Linked DNA regions of Homo sapiens: region 1 is linked to region 2. Evidence: promoter capture Hi-C in 16 types of primary human blood cells and fetal thymus (Javierre and others, 2016). All regions are on one chromosome and are shown on one strand. Each heading gives the region's core, a stretch centred on a gene start or on the middle of the fragment in contact. The rest is flanking DNA. Distances are from core to core; before and after follow the strand shown. Region 1 has its middle 170 kb from the start of LINC01473. Region 2 holds the start of FSIP2-AS1 (FSIP2 antisense RNA 1).

Evidence for each region. Contacts are between HindIII fragments. The CHiCAGO score rates a contact against its expected background, and 5 or more counts as called.
Region 1: a fragment that was not itself captured here is called in contact with the fragment with the promoter of FSIP2-AS1 in region 2 in 2 of 17 cell types (M1 macrophages and erythroblasts); the score reaches 5.8 in M1 macrophages.

What each region holds. Positions count from the first base shown.
Region 1 is chr2:186,251,531-186,258,724 of GRCh38, forward strand. No RefSeq gene overlaps it. Among named protein-coding and RNA genes, the nearest start is that of LINC01473, 170 kb to the left of the region's middle. RefSeq lists an enhancer at 4,156-4,812. The HindIII fragment of the contact is 4,307 bases long and covers 295-4,601 here.
Region 2 is chr2:185,795,071-185,801,773 of GRCh38, forward strand. It overlaps FSIP2-AS1 (FSIP2 antisense RNA 1), which reads right to left and starts at 5,080. Exons shown (of 3, transcript NR_144453.1): 1 at 5,010-5,080. FSIP2 (fibrous sheath interacting protein 2) reads left to right here. Exons shown (of 23, transcript NM_173651.4): 16 at 1-2,456; 17 at 4,627-6,703. The HindIII fragment of the contact is 2,248 bases long and covers 4,335-6,582 here.

The DNA.
Region 1 (7,194 bases), core at 1,198-3,697, 450 kb after region 2:
AAGCAATCATAATAGATTATAATTAATAGATCTGAATACAGTATGATGTATACTCTAAAGAGAATTTCTACTAATAGAAATTGGTTTGCATTTAATCAATCAAAAGTTATAAGTTATCTGACTTAACCAGAATTACCTAATACCATTCCTTCCTGAGCCCTGCCTCTTAACATCTGTCTCTTTCTAGAAATCACCTTTGGCTGTTCCTACTTTTCAAACCTTATCAAGTTTTCAAGACCCAGTTCAAGACCCATATCACCCATGAAGTTATCCCTGGTCTCCTCAGTCTAAGTAAGCTTTCTTTCTCCCCTGAAAGCATACAGATCCAATTATATAATTCACCTAGCTTTATCTTCTTTTTTCTTGAATTATTAGTTATATTTTCATAGATCTCTAGACACATAAATATATAGAGATATGGTTTGCTTCCCCAATTAGACCAAACACTCTGTAAGGAATCAGACTTCTTATCCAAGATTATCTACTCTATGGACAGAATGAAGCAATAAGAGGAATTATATACTCTATAAACTTTCAAGATAGAAATAAACACAGTTTTGCATTGATGTTCATCAGGAATATTGGTCTAAAATTCTCTTTTTTTTGTTGTGTCTCTGCCAGGCTTTGGTATCAAGATGATGCTGACCTCATAAAATGAATGAGGGAGGATTCCCTCTTTTTCTATTGATTGGAATAGTTTCAGAAGGAATGGTACCAGCTCCTCCTTGTACCTCTGGTAGAATTCGGCTGTGAATCCATCTGGTCCTGGATTTTTTTTGGTTGGTAAGCTATTAATTATTGCCTCAATTTCAGAGCCTGTTATTGTTCTATTCAGAGATTCAACTTCTTCCTGGTTTAGTCTTGGGAGGGTGTATGCGTTGAGAAATTTATCCATTCAAACTATACTACAAGGCTACAGTAACCAAAACAGCATGGTACTGGTACCAAAATAGAGATATAGACCAATGGAACAGAACAGAGCCCTCAGAAATAATGCCACATATCTACAACCATCTGATCTTTGACAAACCTGAGAAAAACAAGCAATGGGGAAATGACTCCCTATTTAACAAATAGTGCTGGGAAAACTGGCTAGCCATATGTGGAAAGCTGAAACTGGATCCCTTCCTTACACCTTATACAAAAATTCATTCAAGATGGATTAAAGACTTAAATGTTAGACCTAAAACCATAAAAACCCTAGAAGAACACCTAGCCAATACCATTCAGGACATAGGCATGGGCAAGGACTTCATGTCTAAAACACCAAAAGCAATGGCAACAAAAGTCAAAATTGACAAATGGGATCTAATTGAACTAAAGAGCAGAATTCTGCACAGCAAAAGAAACTACCATCAGAGTGAACAGGCAACCTACAAAATGGGAGAAAATTTTTGCAATCTACTCACCTGTCAAAGGGCTAATATCCAGAATCTACAATGAACTCAAACAAATTTACAAGAAAAAAACAACCCCATCAAAAAGTGGGTGAAGGATATGAACAGACACTTCTCAAAAGAAGACATTTATGCAGCCAAAAGACACATGAAAAAATGCTCATCAGAACTGGCCCTCAGAGAAATGCAAATCAAAACCACAATGAGATACCATCTCACACCAGTTAGAATGGCAATCATTAAAAAGTCAGGAAACAACAGGTGCTGGAGAGGATGTGGAGAAATAGGAACACTTTTACACTGTTGGTGGGACTGTAAACTAGTTCAACCATTGTGGAAGTCAGTGTGGCGATTCCTCAGGGATCTAGAACTAGAAATACCATTTGACCCAGCAATCCCATTACTGGGTATATGCCCAAAGGATTATAAATCATGCTGCTATAAAGACACATGCACACGTATGTTTATTGCGGCACTATTCACAATAGCGAAGACTTGGAACCTAGCCAAATGTCCAACAATGATAGACTGGATTAAGAAAATGTGGCACATATACACCATGGAATACTATGCAGCCATAAAAAATGATGAGTTCATGTCCTTTGTAGGGACATGGATGAAGCTAGAAACCATTATTCTCAGCAAACTCTCACAAGGACAAAAAACCAAACACTGCATGTTCTCACTCATAGGTGGGAATTGAACAATGAGGACACATGGACACAGGAAGGGGAACATCACACACTGGGGACTGTTGTGGGGTGGCGCGAGGGATAGCATTAGGAGATATACCTAATGTTAAATGATGAGTTAATGGGTGCAGCACACCAACATGGCACATGTATACATATGTAACTAATCTGCACATTGTGCACATGTACCGTAAAACTTAAAGTATAATAAAAAAAAGAAATAAACACAGTTTATAAGATGAGGACTTGTCCTATCATGTATCCATCACTAAGTTATTTTACTTGATACAAAGGTGACCAATAAATATTTGTTTAACAATCTACTTATTCAAAATGGCACTCATCTTTTAATGTATAAATTTCCTAAGAAATAAGGTATTCTGACTTGGTTTTTTCCTGCCATACATGTATGTTATACATCACTACAGCAAGTGGCTCAAGTGGACTGCCTAATAGTCTTATCATCTGAAAATCTCTGATTGTCACTAAAAAAACTACTGCATTGGAGTAATAAGTAATTCATCACCTCTAATCTCAATTAAGTAATCTAAATAGACTCTCAAGTTGTTGTTGGAATCAATAAGCCATAAAAATAATAACATGGATATTTACCTTAAGTTGTTTCTATTTTGTTTTACAGTAAAAATTCTTTGTAGAAATACATGTTAGAATTCATTGTTTAAAGTTCATCTTTAAACTGATCAAGTATCTACTTGTTACATTAGGTCCCAAGTAATATACTGTAAGCATATATAGGTCAATACACTTTGTAAATTTCTGCAGCCAAAATATTCACTCTAATCCAAGCCTTTCAAATGGATTCTATTGCTCACAAATCTAGAAAAGACAAGAAATCAAATTTCTTTTCTTCTTAAATGACATCACAACTCAAAGACCTCTACGTTCTAATAATTCTTCACTAACAATTTTCTTCTTTTTCTAAGAATAAGAAATTATATACCAAAGAAAGATTCAAAGTTCCCTGCTTCTTCTAAATATTCAAGACAAATAAAAATATGCAAGATGAATGGAAAAAATAAAATCAATACCAAGATTTAATAGTATCAATTCATTCAGTCCGTATTGGTAGGTAAGGAAGGACTGTGAAAACCTCTTTCCACTTGCTCTTAACTCTCAGCAGAAAATGGAAACAAATTTTACAATAGAGACGTAACCACAACCAAATGTATTTTATATATTTCAGAGAAGCAATATGGAATAGTTGGGTTAAATGTGTCTCTGATGTCAGACTTTCCGGGTTTGAATGCCAGCTCTGCCTCTCTTTAGCACAGTAATGCTGGATAATTTACTAACCCTATCTGTGTTTCAATTTCCTCATATGTAAGATAGGAATAATAACAGAACCTGCCTCATAGATATGTTAGGAGGAGGTACTCCATGTAAATCACTTGGCATAGTACCTGGTACATATTAAGCAACACTTGATAAGCATTAGCTAAATGTAAATTGCAATTGCCTTTTAAGTTTTAATATCCCTATTTAAAAAAAAATAGTTGATTGCTTTTACTAACTAAGCCAGAAAAGGGAGTACTTTTTAAAAATTTAAAAACCTATCATTTTCTCTCAATGAATCAATACATGGACAAAAGGTAGATGTCAAAATGAACCTAAATGAGGAGAAGGGCAAAATAACAAAACAGTTCATGAAAAAAAAATAAGTACTAGGCCAGTCAACGGTCGCTCACACCTGTAATCCCAGCACTTTGGGAGGCTGAGGCAGGCAGATTACCTGAGGTCAGGAGTTCGAGGGCAGTCTGGCCAATGTGGTAAAACTCCATTTCTATTAAAAATACAAAAATTAGGCCGGGTATGGAGGCTCACGCCTGTAATCCCAGCACTTTGGGAGGTCAAGGCAGGTGGATCACCTGAGGTTGGGGGTTCAAGACCAGCCTGACCAACATGGAGAAACCCTGTCTCTACTAAAAATACAAAATCAGCTGGGCATGGTGGCACATGCCTGTAATCCCAGCTACTTGGTAGGCTGAAGCAGGAGAATTGCTTGAACCAGGAAGGCAGAGGTTGCCTTGAGCCGAGATCATGCCATTGCACTCCACTCTGGGGAACAAAAGCAAAACTCTGTCTCAAAAAAAAAAAAAAAAACCCAGCCATGTTGGTGGCCGGCGCCTGTAATCCCAGCTACACAGGAGGCTGAGGCAGGAGAATCGCTTGAACCTGGGAGGCAGAGGTTGCAGTGAGCCGAGGTCACACCATTGCACTCTAGCCTGGGCAACAAGAGTGAAACTCTGTCTCCAAATAAATAAATACATACATACATACATACATACTAACTCACTGGGAAACATTCCTGATTCGGCCTAATTGCCTTGCCTTTGACATCCTACCGGTCAAACCAGTCAGTGACCTGAATTAAGCCCAGCTGTTTGGCCCACATTACCATGCTAATGGCACCTGGGATCTAATTTACATCTGCGTGTCTTCACTGTTTGCTTCTTAAGTAAATACATCTGGGAAAGTTCTATACCTACAAACAAGCTTCCCACCAATCTTGTTTCCTTGCCTATAAAGGATTTTGCAAAGATTGCAGTAAACTTCTCTTACAAAATGTCTCATAACAAGTACAGAGGTGTCAACAGCACTCTCATTATAAAAAGAACTCTGATTTAACAGATGAAAGTGTTAAGAAGGCATTCTATTAGTGACATCCATTAATCTTAGGTTAAAGTGTATATTTTGGCAGTTTATTTTCTCTGCTTTAAGTGAACAATTAGTTTAATCAAAGTCATTTGTGAAACAGTTTGATTTTTCTTAATTAATGTCTGCTAAATTTACTTATAATAGACACACTCTGTTGCTAGAACCAAAACAGATATATTGCATGGTTATTAATTTCCAGTTAGCACTGTACAAAATTATTGAGTTGGAATATTTTCTGCCAATGTAGTTTTATTATTTTTTTTTCAAATGAATAATGTGGGAATGTAACTGGCACACCCATCCAATGAATGTAGTAGTTTTTCAGTGCCTGTCAACTTGAAGACAGTGCTTCCTTCATGAGACTCCAGAGAAAATTTAGCAAGATTAGGAGACACACAATGTAACTACAGTATACTTTTTTCTTTTACACATTCTGTACACAATAGTGACATCTTCTGGTTGACTGGAATATAGATGTTTGGGCCAACGCTTTGAAACCATGTCTTAACTCCTTTTCTAATCAAAACATGCTTTGCTTGCCTAAAGATACTATGGGAAATATCCCTGAATCAGTAGTAAATCATCTTTTAATAGATACCATCAAAATTCCAATTTAAGTTTTTTAGAATAAAACATAATAAAAGAACATACTTATTTTTTTCAAAACAAATTTATGACTGGTTAATTGATGAAATTAACTGACCTTAAAAATTCACTTGACACAATAAACAAGTCTGGTTTTTAAGCATCTGCTATGGAAATTTCACTTTCTAGGAAATTTAGTGACCACTGAAATAAATAATAAAAAAGAGAAAATTTCACCAAAATGATATTTTCAAGTCATTTCTAGTGAGCAGTGAGAGAGATTTGGTGGTCTGGGAGGAGGATGAGCCTAATGCTAGTGATATTCCTTTCCTCTCTGACTTTTTTCATAAAATTCTATCTATTCCTATGCAGAGCATCGTGGTCCCTGGGGATGCTTTAAGGGTGCTGTTCTTAGTGCTAAACTCTCATTTCACCTATGCAACCCTCTCCTAGTACAGGCAGCCAACCCAGAGCAGCACTGCATTCAGACTGGTTGTGGTGATTTCAACCCCAGGGTCCCAGGATAGCAATCTCTTCCATGAGGACTGAGCCAGGCACTGGCAGCTAAATATAAAATACTTATCTTATGATCCCTTTCCCCAGACTATAGGGGAAGGGTGACCTCAGTAATTTCAAGGTGATTTTCTTGAACCTCTCTTACTACAAAAGATGGAGGGTACTACATATACTTGTCATAAATCAATTAAGTATAATAAATACCAGAGAATTCTAACCAAAGACTAATGCAAACTTAACTTCCTATTAGAAATTATTCGTTAAAAACAAGAGGAATATTTAAGAGAAATAGAATATTGTTCCATCAGTCATTAATACAATGAAACAATAAGCATTATAAATTCCCATAATGCAATTTTAAAAGATAATTTAATCTTATAGAAATATAATCTTGGCCGGGCTGATTATAAAAATATAATCAGCACTTTGGGAGGCTGAGGCAGGCAGATCACCTGAGGTCAGGAGTTAGAGACCAGCCTGACTAACATGGAGAAACCTCGTCTCTACTAAAAATATAAAATTAGCCAGGCATGGTGGCTCATGCCTGTAATTCCAGCTACTCAGGAGGCTGAGGCAGGAGGATCACTTGGATCCGGGAGGCAGAGGTTGCAGTGAGCTGAGATCACGACATTGCACTCCAGCCTGGGCAACAAGAGCAAAACTCCATCTCAAAATATATATATATAAAATCTTATAAAGAAAATATATGTTATTTAACTGGTTTAAATAACAATAAATCAGAGAAGCTTATAATTAAAATTATACTAACTATATTTATCCTATCTTGTGGATCAGCTAGTATCTCTTTTAGTAATGACAGCTCTTCACAATCTAGTTATTGTATGTCTAAATGGATATTTGTAAAGAACAAATCGTGAAGATTTTTAATATGAGAAAATATACTGAAGGGAGGAGGAGCACTGCTAGGAAATATATATATATATATATATAAAATATGTATGTGTAAGTATATACACTACATTCTTCTTTAGAGTTAGAAATTGAGGCATCTATGTTTTCTGAAATTACAAATCAAATTGACTAAAGAAACAAGCTATAAATGTTTAATTATCTTTTAAATAATGCATAAAGTATATGATTAATAAGAATTTACTATTACCTTTAAAATTATATACTGAATATGTTTCCAAATTTATAAAAAGTATTCACTCTCAAAAGTCATAGAGATAAGGGCTAAATACAGTGGCTCACACTTGTAATCTCAGCACTTTGGGAGGCCAAGGCAAGTGGATTGCTTGAGCTTTGGAGTTCAAGACCAGCCTAGGCAATATGGTGAAACCCGTCTCTACAAAAAACACAAAAATTAG
Region 2 (6,703 bases), core at 3,830-6,329:
ACTTCCTTTAAAGGTGAGCCCTAAGGACAACCCTAAGCCATGCTTTAAAGCACATTTAAAAACAAGATCAAAAATTACCACTTTGCCTAAATTTACAAAAAAAACACACTTAGGACTGAGTGCTGCTAAGGCCAAAAGCAAAACCAAGTTAGGTCCTGGAGAGAAGACCCTAAAAGACAGCAGATCCAAGACTGCCATTGGGTTGTCACACATCATGTCAGCTGGAGATGCCAAAAATTTACTGGACACAAAATTGCCCACTTCAGAACTAAAAATATATGCCAAGGATATAATAATTAACATCCTAGAAACAATTGTGAAGGAATTTGGAAAGGTAAAGCAAACCAAAGCTTTACCATCTGATCAAATCATAGCAGCAGGTAAAATAGTTAATACAGTTTTGCAAGAATTATATGTTACCAATAACTGCAATTTGGCTTACCCGATGAAATCCTCACATCTCAGACTTTCACAGGGGAATATAGGCACAGGATCCCTTCCTAAACAACAAGCATGTTTTTACTTGGAGAATGTTTCTTCACAGCTAGAGCACATTTTTCCTAGAGAAGGTATATTTAAAAAATTGTTTGACAAGTGGCAAACAGAATCAAATGACAAGGAAAATGAAAAATGTAAGCTATTGATGATAGCTGAAAATGTTTTGACTGAAATTTCAATAAAAGCAAAAGAATTAGAATATTCTCTTTCACTTTTAAATTTGCCCCCTCTTGAGAATTGTGAAAGCAGGTTTTATAATCATTTTAAAGGAGCTTCTACTAGAGCCGAGGATACTAAAGCACAAATTAATATGTTTGGAAGGGAAATTGTTGAAATGCTACTTGAAAAACTACAGCTATGCTTTCTGTCCCAAATTCCCACTCCAGATAGTGAAGAAACTCTATCAAACAGTAAAGAACACATTACTGCTAAAAGTAAATATGGTTTTCCAAACAAGCATAGCCTCAGCAGTTTACCAATCTATAACACAAAGACAAAAGACCAAATTTCTGTGGGCTCCAGCAACCAAATTGTTCAAGAGATTGTAGAAACGGTTTTAAACATGTTAGAGTCATTTGTGGACTTGCAGTTTAAACATATCTCCAAATATGAGTTTTCTGAAATTGTGAAAATGCCTATAGAAAACCTTTCTTCTATCCAACAGAAACTGTTAAACAAAAAAATGTTGCCAAAATTACAACCACTGAAAATGTTTTCTGATAAATCCGAGTCAAATACTATTAATTTCAAGGAAAACATACAGAATATCCTTCTACGGGTTCATTCATTCCATTCACAATTACTTACATATGCTGTTAATATCATCAGTGACATGCTTGCTGTAATTAAGAACAAGCTAGACAACGAAATAAGCCAAATGGAACCATCTTCAATTAGCATATTGAAAGAGAACATTGTAGCAAGTGAGATCATTGGCACACTAATGGACCAGTGTACTTATTTCAATGAGTCTTTGATACAAAACCTTTCAAGAGAAAGTTTGTTCCAAGGAGCTGAAAATGCCTACACTGTTAATCAGGTTGAATTAGCAACTAATATGAAAATGTTCACATCAAAGTTAAAGGAAGGTAGTTTGGGGATTAATCCTTCACAAGTGAGTAAAACTGGGTTTGTGTTTTGTTCAGATGAAGATATGAAAGAAAAGTACAGGGTTTCATCAGATTTACCCACCTCTGTCAGATCCTCTGTAGAAGACACAGTTAAAAACTCAGAGCCAACGAAAAGGCCTGATTCAGAAACTATGCCATCGTGTTCTACTAGAAACAAAGTACAAGACCACAGACCAAGGGAATCTAACTTTGGTAGTTTTGATCAGACCATGAAAGGAAATAGCTACCTCCCTGAAGGCAGTTTCTTACAAAAGCTGCTTAGGAAAGCAAGTGACTCCACAGAAGCAGCATTAAAGCAAGTCTTGTCATTCATAGAAATGGGAAAAGGTGAAAATCTAAGAGTGTTTCATTATGAGAACCTAAAACCAGTTGTTGAACCAAACCAAATTCAGACAACCATTTCCCCTCTCAAAATATGTTTAGCTGCAGAAAATATTGTCAATACTGTGCTATCCAGCTGTGGCTTTCCAAGTCAACCACACACTAATGAGAACAGGGAAATAATGAAACCATTTTTCATATCAAAACAAAGCTCTTTATCTGAAGTATCTGGAGGGCAAAAGGATAACGAAAAAAGTTTGCTTAGAATGCAGGATAAAAAAATCAACTATATACCTGAGGAAGAAAATGAAAACCTTGAAGCCAGCCGGGAAGATTCTTCTTTTTTGCAAAAATTGAAAAAAAAGGAGTACCCAAAGATAGAGACTGTGAAGGAAGTTGAAGCCTTTACTTTTGCTGATCATGAAATGGGTTCCAATGAAGTTCATCTGATAGCAAGACATGTCACCACATCTGTGGTCACATATTTGAAGAACTTTGAAACTACAGGTAAGCAAGAGAGAACGTACCTAAAAATTTGCATGATTTAGGAAGAAAACCAGTAAAAGACATGTTTAAAAGATCTCCTGTCTAAAAAGCTGTATTCACTATTTTTCTGAAAATACCCTTGGAGGTAGATGACTACTGAGTTGCACTTTAATTTTATTTTAAATGTATTATTTTATTTTATTTAGAAATAGTGTCTCTGTCACTGAGGCTAGAGTACAGTGGCATGATCATTGCTTCCTGCAGCCTTGAACTCCTGGACTGAAGACATCCTCCCATCTCAGCCTTCCCCCAAAATAGCTGGGACCACAGGCATGCCACTGCACTCTAATTTTTAAAAATCTTTTTGTAGAGACAGGGTTTTGCTATGTTGCGCAGGCTGGTCTCAAACTCCTGGCCTCATGTGATCCTTCTTTCTCGGCCCCTCAAAGTGTTGGGATTACTGGCATGAGCCACTGTGCTCAGCCTCAATTGCTTTTTAATTCATCACAATGCAAAAAAATAAAAATAAATAAATGTTTTCAGGATTTGAATTTGAAGGATGTGTTGCTCAGTTTTCTCTATCTACAAATGAGAGAAAATGAGGCCATTTTAAAGCAGGAGATTTTGGTTGAGCATGAGGCATAAATTTGGAAGGGTTTTTAAAATTCTTATGCATAACTTCTTTATAATCATATGGGATGTGCAGTTAACTGATTAAAAGTCATTTAATTTTTGTATTCTTGAAGGCTTTGTTATTATTATTCAAAGTTTAAAAGAACAGTAGAATTGAATATCTTGTTTTATTTGCATTCCAGTATTCTGACTTAAATTCCTTTTAGATATAATACTCCAACTGTATCATTACAGGGATTATATTTGCATTATCTTTCTAAGTATACTCATGTGTATATATTAGGTGAAACAACATGTAATCGTCATTTTGTATATCAAAAACAGTTGATTATTGACAATTAATAAAATTCAGTTTAGTATTACTATAATACCCCAGATCTAGGTCAGTAGTTTCAGTTACCAATAATTACTTGCTACATCACCAGTCCAGATACATCACACATCATTCTAATTGGAGATATTAGCAGTCCTACCCACCTGCACGAGGAGGTTATTTTCCATCCTTAAAACCAGTATTCTCCCAAGATGGACGGTAATGTAGCTACAACTACAAACTCTTAAATAGACTTACTCCAGGCATGACTTAATTGATTTCAGAAAAATAAACAAAAGCAAAACAAGCAAGAGAAGATCCATGATTTCATCACATTGACACTTGGCTCTAACAATTCTATATTCCTATTCTCAGACATCTCCAAGGTCTTCCAGTGACTTCGCTCATGTTCCTTCTTCCACTAGGAATACCTTTTCCTCATTCCCTGTATCTTGACATGGCCAAAACCTGTGTAGCAGTCAAAGCTCAGCTTAAAGTCTTCTATCTGTGTAGAGTCTTGCCTGATAACACATGAAGATATATAATATATAATTAAGTTCTGAGGAAAAAAACTGTGTTGCTCTTGGCTGCCACACCCAGCAGTTGGCCATTGCAAATAGGTAATGATTTGTAACAAATAGAATTTTGGACAAAACAAATATAGAGTTCTTCACCTGGCTGGGCCAACCTTCCTTCTTTGTGACAAACTATAATCTAGGGACTAAAGTACTACTGCTATTGCAATCTATTACTAGCTTTTCTGGAGTTGCCACACTTTTATTTTAGTCAACTTGATATTGCAACACAACTCCTTAATGTCCTAAAAGTAAAACATAGCATAACATTAAATGTTTTGTCTAAAGCTATTTTAAAATAATTATATGGCACCTCTAGGTATCACTGGAGACATGGTAGGATGCATCGCTAAGCCTGGAAATTATTTCTCTGCCCCAAGCTTTCCAGCTTCTTAAGAGTTCATAACCATCCAACCAAGGCAGACATCAGCATTTGACTTAGAGGATTGAATTTTGGGGTGTTATTTTCTCAATTTATTGGCTAAAATTAAGATTTTGCAAGGTGAGAAAATAAATGTTTGAGGAAAATCTAATTTCTTTTTTTGTTTAGATTTTTCTTTAGTGAGTTGCTCAAAGGGTGAAATATATATGTAAATAATAATTTCAAATATATTGAATTTTCTATATTTTCTTTAATCCATGCTAAAATTACAATGTTTCCTTTTTTAAGTTTTTAGTGAGGAAAAGATGTCTGTTTCTACATGGTCAAGGAAAAAATATGAATCAAAACAGTTCCTAAGAAACATATACGATGATTCTTCAATTTATCAATGTTGTGAACATCTCACTGAGTCAGTACTTTACCATTTAACTTCGAGCATTTCTGATGGCACCAAAAAGGGTAGAGAAAAAGAGAAAGCATGGGAAATTCAAGAAGCAACATTTAGCAAGATTATTTCAATTCATTCTCAAGTGTTTGAGAGCAGGTCAATTTCCATTGGAGAACTTGCTTTATGTATTTCTGAAATCATTATTAAAATTCTTTTTAATAATAAAATTATACAGGCTGACATTGCACAGAAAATGGTTGCCATACCTACAAAATACACTTACTGTCCAGGAATAGTTTCTGGTGGCTTTGATGACCTCTTTCAGGATCTCTTAGTAGGAGTGATTCATGTACTGTCCAAAGAAATAGAAGTAGATTATCACTTTGAAAGCAATGTAAGAAACAAATCATTTTCTATGCATAGAAATAATAGTGTACCCCTTTGCAACAAAATCAATAGACAGGCAAGCCCCAGAGACTGGCAATTTTCTACTCAACAAATTGGTCAACTTTTTCAAAAAAATAAGTTAAGTTATCTTGCATGTAAGTTAAACAGCCTGGTTGGTAACCTAAAAACAAGTGAATCCAAAGAAGTAGTCAATAAAGTTTTTAATATTGTTTCAGATTTATTTTCACCAGATGAATGCCTAGATACGGGTATGGATTCTGGTAAAATACAAAGAACATATTTCTACTCCTCGAATAATGAGCAACCTAATAGCATACTTACCAATAACCTACAGCTCTCCTCAAAATCAGTTTTTCTTCTCAATGTTGTATGTGAGAAACTTATCAGAATACTTTTGGAAGAATGCACAAGCACTGCTTTTCCTGATAAAGGGTCTGTTTCAGAGGAAACATCAGCAGAAGAATGTCAACTTTTAAAAATGCTTCAAAGTGTAGAAGATGGAAAATCTGATTATCGTAAGGGAGGAATGGACTGTGAATGCCTTCAAGTAGATTACATGTCAGACCTTTTGGAGAATGTGGCAGAAATTGATCAAGACTTATTGACATCAGACTCTATGCTTACTATTATTTCCCACAGCTTGGTTAAATCATTGATGGACAAATTATCTCACAGCATACAACAAGCTCCGGAAAGTCTACCTTTTGCAAATAAGCATTTGAACTACAGAACAAGAGAAATACAGTCTAGTTTCATAAAAGCAAGAAAGTCAGAATTAATAGAATTAGGACAGAGTAAAAGTTCTTTAGAACTCAGGAGCTATGATAGTAATTCTTTGACAGTATCCCTGAATAATCCCAGTGTGGTTAGCTCCAAAATACAAGCACCATTTAACAAGCATTGTGCAGTAAAATCCTCTTCTGTGTCACCTTTTGAAAGACAGAGAACAAAGGAAATGGATAAGGTAGCCATTCATAATAAGCTACATCAGGAAGGTATATATGCTGGTGTTTATTCAGCCACATTTTTGGAAGGAATAATTTCAGAATTGTTTTTTAATCTCTCTATGTCATTGTGGGGCAAAAATAAAAACATCACTGTGTCCTGGCTCAATGAGATGAATACATTATTTGTCAACAATGTAGTGAATGAATTTAATAATGCTCAAGTCACTGTTCTACGGAATGCTGAAGAAAGGCTGTGTTTTCCACCAGTTCATACAGAAACTGTTAGCAAAATTGTTGACTCAGTTTATTATGATGTTTTACAGCAGTATGAATTAAAAGTGGCCTGTGGTAATAATCCGGTATACGACAATGCCTCAATAGCAGAACAAATAACAAATGGCATATTGTTAGAGATTTTAGACTACAAACTGCCATCTTGCTTCAAGGAACATCTCATACCCCATTCATATTACCCTCTCAAACCTGAAATTATATTGCAAAAGCTTCAAAGTAACCTAACAGAATTTACTTCTCTACCCAGGTCTTCATCAGACTATAGTACCATGTTATCACATTCATTTTTAGAAGATGTCATAAGAAGGCTTTTATCTCAGCTAATTCC